Linked DNA regions of Homo sapiens: all the other regions are linked to region 1. The links are contacts of gene promoters, found by promoter capture Hi-C in blood cells and fetal thymus (Javierre and others, 2016). All regions are on one chromosome and are shown on one strand. The core of a region is centred on a gene start or on the middle of the fragment in contact, and the rest is flanking DNA. Distances in the headings are between cores, read along the strand shown. Region 1 holds the start of C21orf140 (chromosome 21 open reading frame 140). Region 2 overlaps RCAN1 (regulator of calcineurin 1). Region 3 has its middle 22 kb from the start of CLIC6.

Region 1 (3,228 bases), core at 413-2,912:
ATGCGTTAAAATATAAGCATATTGCATACATAAGCATATTTACACCCACATCTAAAAGATAACATATTATATATACTTTTCCATACTTCTGAACAAGCGTCTCATATCCATAACTAAAAATTAGATGAGAAAGGCAAAGAACTCTTGTCTTCGAATTGACTTCATTGCACTATATAGCATTTCACACTGCGGTTCCAGGCCACAGGGTCCCTTGGGTAGGGGGAGACAAAGGGTGTGGCTGACAGGGAGACTCTAGGACTACCATTGCCACTTCCACCAGAGCAGCCACACTTCTGTTCCACATAGTTGGCATCCAAATTTGATTTGAAAAACAGTTTCCACTACTAAAAGAAAAATCCTATGAGAAAATGACCACAAGCCAATTATCCACTCAAACCTGCTGATCCTGGCCTCTGGGAGAGGCTGTTTGGAGACCACATATTTCATATTAACTTTACCATGATGAGATTATCTTACTGTCTGGGGTCATCCAAACTTGAGCTCCAAGAAAACCCCTGTGTGAGGGAAAAAAAAAAAAAATCCTCCTCCATTCAACAGTAGAGCAAAGGACCTGACCAATCATTTTGTCCACGTCTTCATTTGAAGGAATCCTTCATGCCCATTTTATGAAATGTCTTTAGCTCTGATTAAAGAGGCAAGAAAATACAAAGGAAGAGATGGTTAGAGTTTGAAGCAAACTGTCATTTTGCCTGAGTATATAAAATTAAAAGTGCTTTCAAGATGAGGTATTGAATTAGTTCAATAACTGCAAGCTCCGGGTGGGCGCAGTGGCTCACATCTGTAATCCCAGCACTTTGGGAGGCCGAGGCGGGCGGATCACAAGGTCAGGAGATCGAGACCATCCTGACTAACACGGTGAAACCCCATCTCTACTAAAAATACAAATAATTAGCCGGCCATGGTGGAAGGTGCCTGTAGTCCCAGCTACTCGGGAGGCTGAGGCAGGAGAATCACTTGAACCCGGGAGGCGGAAGTTGCAGTGAGCCGAGATCGTGCCACTGCACTCCAGCCTGGGCAACAGAGAGAGACTCCCTCTCAGAAAAAAAAAAAAAAAAAAAAAAAAAAAAAGACCTGCAAGCGCCAGTGGAAGCTAGGTGTGCAGACTGACTTTCTTTTGCAATTTGCCATACCTTCCTTCTGCCACCTGGAAAAAATCACTCTTAGTTGTGCAAATGGGAAGGCAACTGGCACAAATTCTATGCATACACAGACACACAACACGTAAGTCCAGGACTCCCTGGGTGTGTCATGACTATACCCCTGGTGCCTGGCACAATGCCTGGTGTACAGCAGGTGATCAGTACATATTTTTGAAATGGATGAATGAATGTAAACATTTCTCCCCATCTTAAGCCAAATGGGTAGGCTCATTACTATTAAAAGATTGCCAACCTCTGTCTCAGACCTATTGCAGAAGTGATGTCAAAGTAGCATTTTTATGGGTAGCATCTGCAATTCCCATATTTTATGGGTCAGCAGGGAGTTGTTCTGAGTATTTATTCCATGATGCTTGAAATCTGAAGTGTATGTGTGGGACTGGCACCACTGTAAGAAAGCCCTTTATGAGGTCATCATCCCCCACTTGCCATCTCTCCCCAGATGCAGATGTGCAAGCTTTTAAAAACACTTGAGAAGCCACCATGCCTCGCTTTGCAAGCCCTCTTTTAAGAAATGTCATTATCAGAAGTCAATTTGATGGCATCAAGAGGAAGCAATGCCTCCAATATCTGAAAACCCTGAGAACACTGCAATATGATGGATTTAAGACCGTATATTTTGGGGAAACCAATATCCCAGAAAGTCTCGTAACTGGGGAAGATATTAGTGATGGATATTTCATACAAACCCCAACTTGGTGTATTGTGCATGCTGCGGGTAGTCAAGGATGGGTGCCTTGGAAATATCGGGTGTTCCTAAGAGACGAGCTGTGTATCAAACAAGAAGACAGCCTCTTCTCTGAGTTCTGTGATGTGGTGAGGAAGGCCTATGGAAAGTGTGTCATCGTGGTCAAAGAGAGAAGGCAGCAGGAAGAGCAGAGGCCAAAGGAAGACAGAGAGGCTGAGGGCCAGTTCTATATCCCTACAGTCATTAGCTTAGCAAGCATTATGTGTTGCCCAGAGGTGGCCAAGTCCTGTGGCCATGAACTACTCTCTCTGCCTTCCCCTTGTAATTATCTGAACCCTTTAGACTCAGCCTGGTCTTCTCTGAAATGGTTTATCATCAATAACAGAAACGAGTTTTGTTTGCAGTCCATTGACAGTGGCTATTCTTACCAATGTATACTTTTCAGCAATTTAATTAGCAAAGGAATTGAAAGGATAAACGCAAGCAAGTGGAGAACATTAACTAGCAAAGTACGGAGATGGGAAAACTACTATCTTGGGAAATTTTCTTAAGGGTGGTTCCTCCAACAAGCAGTGAGGCTGCTACATGTCTGGTCTTTACCGTCAACTCTGTTGAGATGAATTCCACACCACTGCAGCCAAAGATACTTCAACAGCGACCTCACATGGGGTGCTGCGAGAACTGGGTTGCTCCTAAGGATGTTGGCAAAGCGCTTTGAGTTTACTAGAAGTTTCATTAAAATTTGTTGGTAAGTTAGGGGTCTCGACTCTTATCTTGTGAAGGCTACTTTGAGGGCTTTGTCAAGGGGAGGATTAGGTCTAACCCAGCCCAAAGGTGGATGGCAATAAGCAGGGGTGAGCAGGCTGAAAGTTGAGTGGTCGAAATTTAGGTCTGAGAAAAAAAGAGAACCAGTGTGCAGTCATCCCCCAAAAAGCCCAAATTAAATAGTGTGCCAAGTTTCCACCCACCAAAGTAATCCACAGGGATCCAGCTTGCCATGGGCGAGATATTGTCCAGATGGTCGCCAAGCAAGACTCCCTCCTCCCGATTGTCCTTCCTTCCTTGTCGGCAAAGTGGTGGAGGATGAGTGAGAGGCAGCCGCAGAGGGGAAACTCCATCCGGACCCTCCAAGGGGAGTAGGTGGTCCCAGTTAGGACCTGGAAAGTTATGACAGTGGTGGGTTCAAGTGGGCTATGGTGGGCAAAGGGGTGGCACGCATGGGGGTCTGCAGAGACCACTTATCCAGCCAATCTCCCCGCCAACTCCAGGAATTCCAGCAGGTCATTAGACTGTGCCGTGGAGTTTCATCTCGAGACCCTGTAGCTGAGCCACTTGCAGCTGGGACAACACCTCCCTATTTAG
Region 2 (3,254 bases), core at 41-2,540, 200 kb before region 1:
GGGTGGAAGTTTTCTTTATATAGACCCTATCTATTTCTTTAATTTGTATTTATGTTTTAGATTCTTCAATATGAACATTTTTATGTAAATTTAAGAAATTATTTAAAAATGGGATTTTTAAATTACACTTATTTTTACCTCTATATAGAGAAGATTATTGTTTCTGTGTATTAATTTTGTAACCAACCACCTGTGCTAAAGCCTTTGACTATTTCTAATAGTTGATTCTTTTGCATTTTCTAGGTATAAAATCGTATCACCTGCAAATAATGATGATTTTTCCATCTTGTTTATAATACTTCAAATTGTATTTCAACATTATAGAGGCAGCAGATGGGTATTCTCATCTTATGGAAACACGCTAGTCTTTCACCACTGACCATAGCTTGGGTGTGGCAATATGGTATTTTATCTCACCTTCAGGTATCTTGATGACTTTCCCTGTTACAGACCTAGTTACCCCAACAGACACATCTAGCTTTCTTTCATTACTTTTACATAGGCTCCAAGCTGACACACAATTCTTCTTTAAAGAAGCAGCTTCCCGAACGTTCTGTGAGCCACATCTCCATCTGCACACTCTCGATGCTGCCCTGTGGAGGACTCCCTAGGGTGGTGGGAGTGTCCTGTATCCGCACTGTCCACTGCAGTAACCACTGGCCACTTGTGGCCACTGAGTGCTTGAAATGTGGTGGACATGACTGAGGAACTGAACTTTTAATTTTTTTCATTTTAATTAATTTTCATTTAAATTGTCATGTTATTGAGCACTTAAAATGTAGCTAGTACTACCGAGGAGTGTTTACTTTTGCTAATTTTCATTGACATAGCCCCATGTGGCTGGTAGCTGCAGAACTGGGCTGCACGGGTTCCTCGCTCATTCATGGAAGGGTAAGATATGAATGCTAGAAAGGCCCTGGTGGCCACTCATTGTGCCCAGAGATGCTGAGATTGGGCCCACATCACACAGCAAGTTCATGACGAAACTGAGACTGGGAGCCCAGGATTCTTACTCTCTGTCTCAAGCTGGTGTCACTGTCCAACCCCTTCTTTACTCCTCCCCTCCCATTTCCCTTCTGTAAGTTATCACCGAAGTCCCAGTGTGTGCAGACCAACGCACAGCACAGTGAGCAGGCCCGAGCCTCGCAGACACCTTCCCTAGTGTGGGTCCAGCCAAGGGCTGTGCAGTTGTTGAGTTTTCAGCCGAGCTCCTTCACTCCACAGTGCAAAGGTTCTCGCAAGATAAAGGCAGGGAGGCAAAGTCCTCGGCCCTTTGTCGAGGTGGAAAGCACCCTGAGGTACTGTGTTGGTGTTCCAACATCATCAGGAAATGCCCATCCCGGTTCGAATGTATTTTCCAGTGCTTCTAAAAGAAGACTTTCTGCATCTTCTGCATGGCAGCGGGGGTTGCTCCTGTCCCTGAGACGGCTCTAAACCTTACGAGAACCCAGCCTGCCGTGGTCAGGGAGTGGAGAGAATATAGAAAGCAGAGCCTTCGAGAAGGCCCTCAGCTGAGGCTCCAGTGGGCAAGGAGGCTTTCTCGGTCATGCAGGAGCCACAGCCCTGCTTGCACTTCGAGTTTTTTCTACTTTAGCCAACTCTTTCTCTCTTTCCCCAGTGAGGGGGTTCCCTGCATCAGTCCCTGGGCCCCTGTGGGTCTCCTCAGCCTTCCCTCCCAGTCGTTCATTCAAAAGAAGCAGGAGGGAACCACGCTACAGAGACTCTCGGCTTTTTCTGGAGGGCAGGAAGGCCTCCGCTTATACTGGAGGTCACCTGTTGGAGCTTAGAGGTTAAGAAGGCCGGGCACTTGAGCTTCTTCCTGGCACTGCTGCTCCCTGGTAGCATGGACATGGGTGCTTCAGTTTGCCCACTTGTAGGATGGGGCTCATAATAGCCACCTCACAGGGCTCCGGGGATGGGGACGTGAGTCCACAGACAGAAAGTGCCGAGAGTCCACTCTCCACAGATGTCAGCACTGATCCACACTAAGATGTCTTCTCTACCTGCTTCAAGGGCAGGTGACCTCCAGGAAGGGCCCCCTCTGCTCCTCGGCCAGAATCCTTGAGGCAGGCTTATCTGGGGAGCTTGGCCTGCATCTGCGTAGATGGACTGTGTGGGGGACCCCCAGACTCCCCTTTTCACACGTATGTCCCACCCCTGCCGGGGGGTGGTCAGCTTGTCTGACACCACAGGTCCCCAGCTCCTTGAGGCAGCCTGTCCGGCCTGCCCAGTGGCCCCCATCAGAGCCATCCAGGCAGCGTGTGAGTGGGTGTTGGGAGCAGTGCCCTTCCAGTGGCCGGCGAAGGCAGTGTGCATGCCTGAATCTGCTGCCAGTTGAGAAGTCAGCTCCTCAGGTGGGACAAGGACCCTGGCCTTCCTGGGAACCTGAGCAGATTGCGCAGTTTCCTTTTCTCAGCACGGCTCCTGCACTGGCTTACGTAACAGCAACAACCTGCAGAGCCTGGGCTCCGGGGCTCATTCCCAGACAGTGAAGTCTATGATGAATAGATGGGTCTGTACACTCTTAGCAGAGAGCCAGTAATTTGCTCAAAGGTCAAACTTAGCTTGATTCAGAACACAAAATTACTAGGATTCTATTCTTTCTGCGGGTGTTGCTTCTGTATTTTTCATGGTCAAGGAAAAGCTGTGAAGCACTTTCTTAGGGCTTAAGAGCTAAGGGATTTTTCCTCCTTTTTTGATGACCCTCTTTTCCAGCATCTCAGCACACCCCCAGATGGGAAGAGGCTATGATGAATTTCTCCCACCATTTATGCCACACCCACTCTGTGCCAGTTACTAGAGCAAGTGGTTTCCAGGTGTGTGTGTAAGGAAATGCTCTTAGTGCATTTGTTCTGTGTCAGGCACTGTTTTCCATAGTGTTTGTCCAGTGCCAGGTGCTGCTGTAAGTATGGCACTGCCTAGAAGTGTGAATGCATTTCATCCTCACATAAACCCTGTGAAGCAGATACTATGACTGTCCCCATTTTATGGATGGAGTCACTGAGGCATCTGGAGGTGAAGTAACTTGCCCATGTTGCACAGCTAAGTTGGAGGAGGGGGCAAGGTTTGAACCCAGGCCATCTTATTCCAGAGTTAGCATTCTTAACCACTACCCATGCTGCCTGTCCACCCTGGTCCCCCATTTCGTTTGCCACCCAGGATCCCTGTGAGGTATGCGCTTGTTACGATTCCATTTTACAGTGAAGACACGGAGGCCTGGCGAGTTTGTATGGGGGCCAGTGCCTGCTTGGGAT
Region 3 (3,437 bases), core at 215-2,714, 250 kb before region 1:
AGGAGAGGATGGAAAAAAGAGAGTTTCATTCTCCTTTCTTGGACCCCAAATCAATCTACCATAAATGTTTGTAAAATGAGCAAGTCTCTGGAATCTTCCCACCCACTTCTCTGAGGGCGTAATGTTATACTTGAGAATTGCAGGCTCTTGGTTTCCTCTTACACATGAGGAACTCCCAATCTGCCCAGTCTCCCTCCAATCTGCCCAGTCTCCCTCCCTTCATCATCCCATCACCTGCCATCCCTCCTGAAATCAAAATTCTTATCCTGTTACCGAGTGTAAGTTCTATGAAGAGTTTTGAAGCTAGAACAGCAAACTCTTTTATGGTGCTGACGATATGCCAGGCACTACTATAAACACATAACATACATTAGCTCATATGATTAATATAATCCTTGACGTAAATGCTAACGATGTAAAGATGTGGGATAGAGAAGGTAAGCAATTTGCCCAAGGGCACACCGTCGGGAAGTGGTAGAGCCCCACAGTGCAGAGTGTACCCAGACAGCCTGGCTCCAGCGTCTGTGAACCTAACCCCATGAACGTAACCCTTCCTAAGGCTGGGGAAGCATGTGCCTGGTTGCAAGCATTGTGCCATGTGTGCATGCATTTAGCAGTCATGCACTGGGACCTGCTGGTTGCCAGCCACTGTGCTGGGGCCAGGGACACAGGGGTCACAAGGCCATCTAGTCTATGTCCTTGTGCAGCCACATTCCTGGGGGGCTTCAGACAATTAGACAAACAATGACAACATGAGGAAGTAAATGTTCTGCATATCTAGGAGTATTTAGGAGGAGTGCCCAACTGGGACCCAGGGCCAGGCCAGGTAGATGTGGGGAGGGTTGGTCAGCTCTGAGGTACACCTGAAGGATGAATAGAGGTTTTGCTGGCCAGGAAAAAGGTGGGAGATGGCATTCCAGGCAAGGAAAGGGCATGGGAAAAACCCAGAGCAAGGAGTATGCCAGGGAAAAAAGTTGTCTCAGTGAGGATGGAGCCAAGTGTGAACAGGGACAGCAGGCAACTGAGAGGCCTGGAGAGGCAGGCAAGGACTTCCCTTGGTTCTTACCTTTTAAATTTCTTTCATTTTTAGAGACAGGGTCTCACTCTCTTGACCAGGTTGGAGGTACAGTGGTGCAATCATGGCTCACTAAAGTCTTGCACTCCTGGGTTCAAGCAATCTTCCTGCCTTAGCCTCCCGAGTAGCTGGGACTAGAGGCACAAGCCACCACTCTTGGCTAATTTTTTATTTTCTATTATTTGTAGAAATGGGGTCTCACTGTGTTGCCCACGCTGGTCTCGAACTCCTGGCCTCAAATGATCCTCCCACCTCAGCCTCCCAAGGTATTGGGATTATAGGCATGAGCTACACACCCAGCCAAGGACTGCACTTTGAAGGGCCCCACAAGCCCCATCAGAAAGTCTGGGCTTTATCCGAAGAGCATTAAGGCACCCCAAGGGGCTGCCCACTGTGGGGTGGTATGGACCGCTGTGCATGTAGAACACGCAGGAGATGAGTTAGGAGGATGCAGTAGCAGTCCCAGGGGATGAAGGTGGCCTGGATGATGCCTTGGCCCCCACTCTCTACAAATCTAATGCAACCGCTTCCTGAAATCGAATGCAACCGCTTCCTGAAAAGTGGAGGCTCCAACCTTGGGAGTCCAGGACCTGAAAATTGTGCTGGGCTCAACATCAAAGAGTAATGGAGTGGGGGGTGTTGTCTGAAAAGGGCCTGACCAACTGCGGGGCTGTGATTTTTTTCCACCAGCAATTCTCAACCAGGGGCAATGTGCCAATGTCTGGAGACATTTTTGGTTGTCACAGCATGTGGGGGAGTACTACTGGTACCATGCGACCAGCCAGTGTTGCTCAAGGCTTTCTCTTCTTTCCTTTCCCACATTCCCAGAAAGGCTACAGGGCACCACTGGCCAGAGTTGGCTGGCGGCTCAATGCTGCGAAAATAACAAAAAAAGAACTGCTTATATTTACTTAAAGAAACACTGAAAGAGTAAACAAGAAATTGATCTAAATGGTTATGTAGGGGAAAGTGTGAGGGTGGGAATGATTCAACTCTGTGAATACTTTTGTAGAGTGTTTTTGACTTTTGATTCCTGTGCACTGATTACCAATTCAAAAATAATATTATTTTTAGCCGGGCGAAGTGGCTCACGCCTGTAATCCCTGCACTTTGGGAGGCCAAGACAGGTGGATCACCTGAGGTCAGGAGTTCAAGACCAGCCTGGCCAAAATGGTGAAACCTTGTCTCTACTAAAAATACAAAAATTAGCGAGGCATGGTGGCACTCGCCTATAATCCCAGCTACTCAGGAGACAGGCAGGAGAATCACTTGAACCCAGGAGGTGGAGTTTGCAGTGAGTCAAGACCACACCACTGAACTCCAGCCTGGGTGACAGAGTGAGAGATTCTGTCTTAAAATAATAATAATAATAAAGAAAGAAAAAATGTTTTTTTTAAAGAGATTAGCAATTCAGATTTCCAAACGTTAATCCCTTCTGGCCTTTATTTGTAAACTCTGGGTTTTTTTTTTCTTTTTTTTTTTTGAGACAGAGTCTCTCTCCGTCATCAGGATGAAGTGCAGTGGCGCCATCTTGGCTCACTGCAACCTCTGCCTTCTGGGTTCAAATGATTCTCTTGCCTCAGCCTCCCGGGTAGCTGGGATTGCAGGTGTGCACCACCACACCCAACTAATTTTTGTATTTTTAGTAGAGACGAAGTTTCACCATGTTGGCCAGGATGGTCTCGATCTCTTGACCTCATGATCTGCCCCCCTTGGCCTCCCAAGGTGCTGGGATTACGGGCATGACCCACCACGCCCGGCCAACTCAGGGTTTTTCTAATGAATTCTCTTCTTAATGAATCTGCAGCGTCTTTATTAAAACTCCATTCTGGCTGATTCATATACCTCCTACACTGTACTTCATGCATGTTTCACATGCTTCTTGTAAAATTTTCACAACTGATGTAGACCCTATTTCTTTAAAAAGGCCCAACCTTCCCTTTAGACTTTACTGAAGCCAACAATGGACTCGTTTCAGTGAGCCTTGTTTTGTTCCAGGGCTTACCTGTGAAATGCATTTATTCCACCAGGAAGCTTTTGAAAAAATCAGTCATCTGATCCCTTCTTGGTATCCATAGGCTCTGGGAGGTCAAAGTTCCTGTTTTCTTCCACTGGCATCATCCCTTCACAAGCCTTTTTAAGTGCTGCTGTGGCTTGTCAGGAGGGCGGATCATATATCCAAGGTATATAAGCCCCCTTTCAGGACACGTTCATCTGTGAAGTGGTTTTTGGCAGGTGATCAGCCTCCAGGAATTTAAGGCCTTGACTTGCTGGCAAAAGCCCTAGATCATGGGACCCAAGCTCCCTGATTTGGTGGGTCAGCCTTGGAATTCATGACGCACCTGACTGTATCAGGCAGGCT

The links. Contacts are between HindIII fragments. The CHiCAGO score rates a contact against its expected background, and 5 or more counts as called.
Region 2: a fragment that was not itself captured here is called in contact with the fragment with the promoter of C21orf140 in region 1 in 12 of 17 cell types (M2 macrophages, M0 macrophages, M1 macrophages and 9 more); the score reaches 16.3 in M2 macrophages.
Region 3: a fragment that was not itself captured here is called in contact with the fragment with the promoter of C21orf140 in region 1 in 9 of 17 cell types (M0 macrophages, M2 macrophages, M1 macrophages and 6 more); the score reaches 10.6 in M0 macrophages.

Annotation. Positions count from the first base shown.
Region 1 is chr21:34,399,506-34,402,733 of GRCh38, reverse strand. It overlaps C21orf140 (chromosome 21 open reading frame 140), which reads left to right and starts at 1,662. Exons shown (of 1, transcript NM_001282537.2): 1 at 1,662-2,622. The coding sequence starts at 1,662. The coding sequence ends at 2,417. The HindIII fragment of the contact is 9,278 bases long and covers 1,638-3,228 here.
Region 2 is chr21:34,594,766-34,598,019 of GRCh38, reverse strand. All of the region lies in intron 1 of RCAN1 (regulator of calcineurin 1), which reads left to right. Among named protein-coding and RNA genes, the nearest start is that of RCAN1, 19 kb to the left of the region's middle. The HindIII fragment of the contact is 8,670 bases long and covers 1-3,254 here.
Region 3 is chr21:34,644,895-34,648,331 of GRCh38, reverse strand. No RefSeq gene overlaps it. Among named protein-coding and RNA genes, the nearest start is that of CLIC6, 22 kb to the left of the region's middle. The HindIII fragment of the contact is 3,295 bases long and covers 1-3,111 here.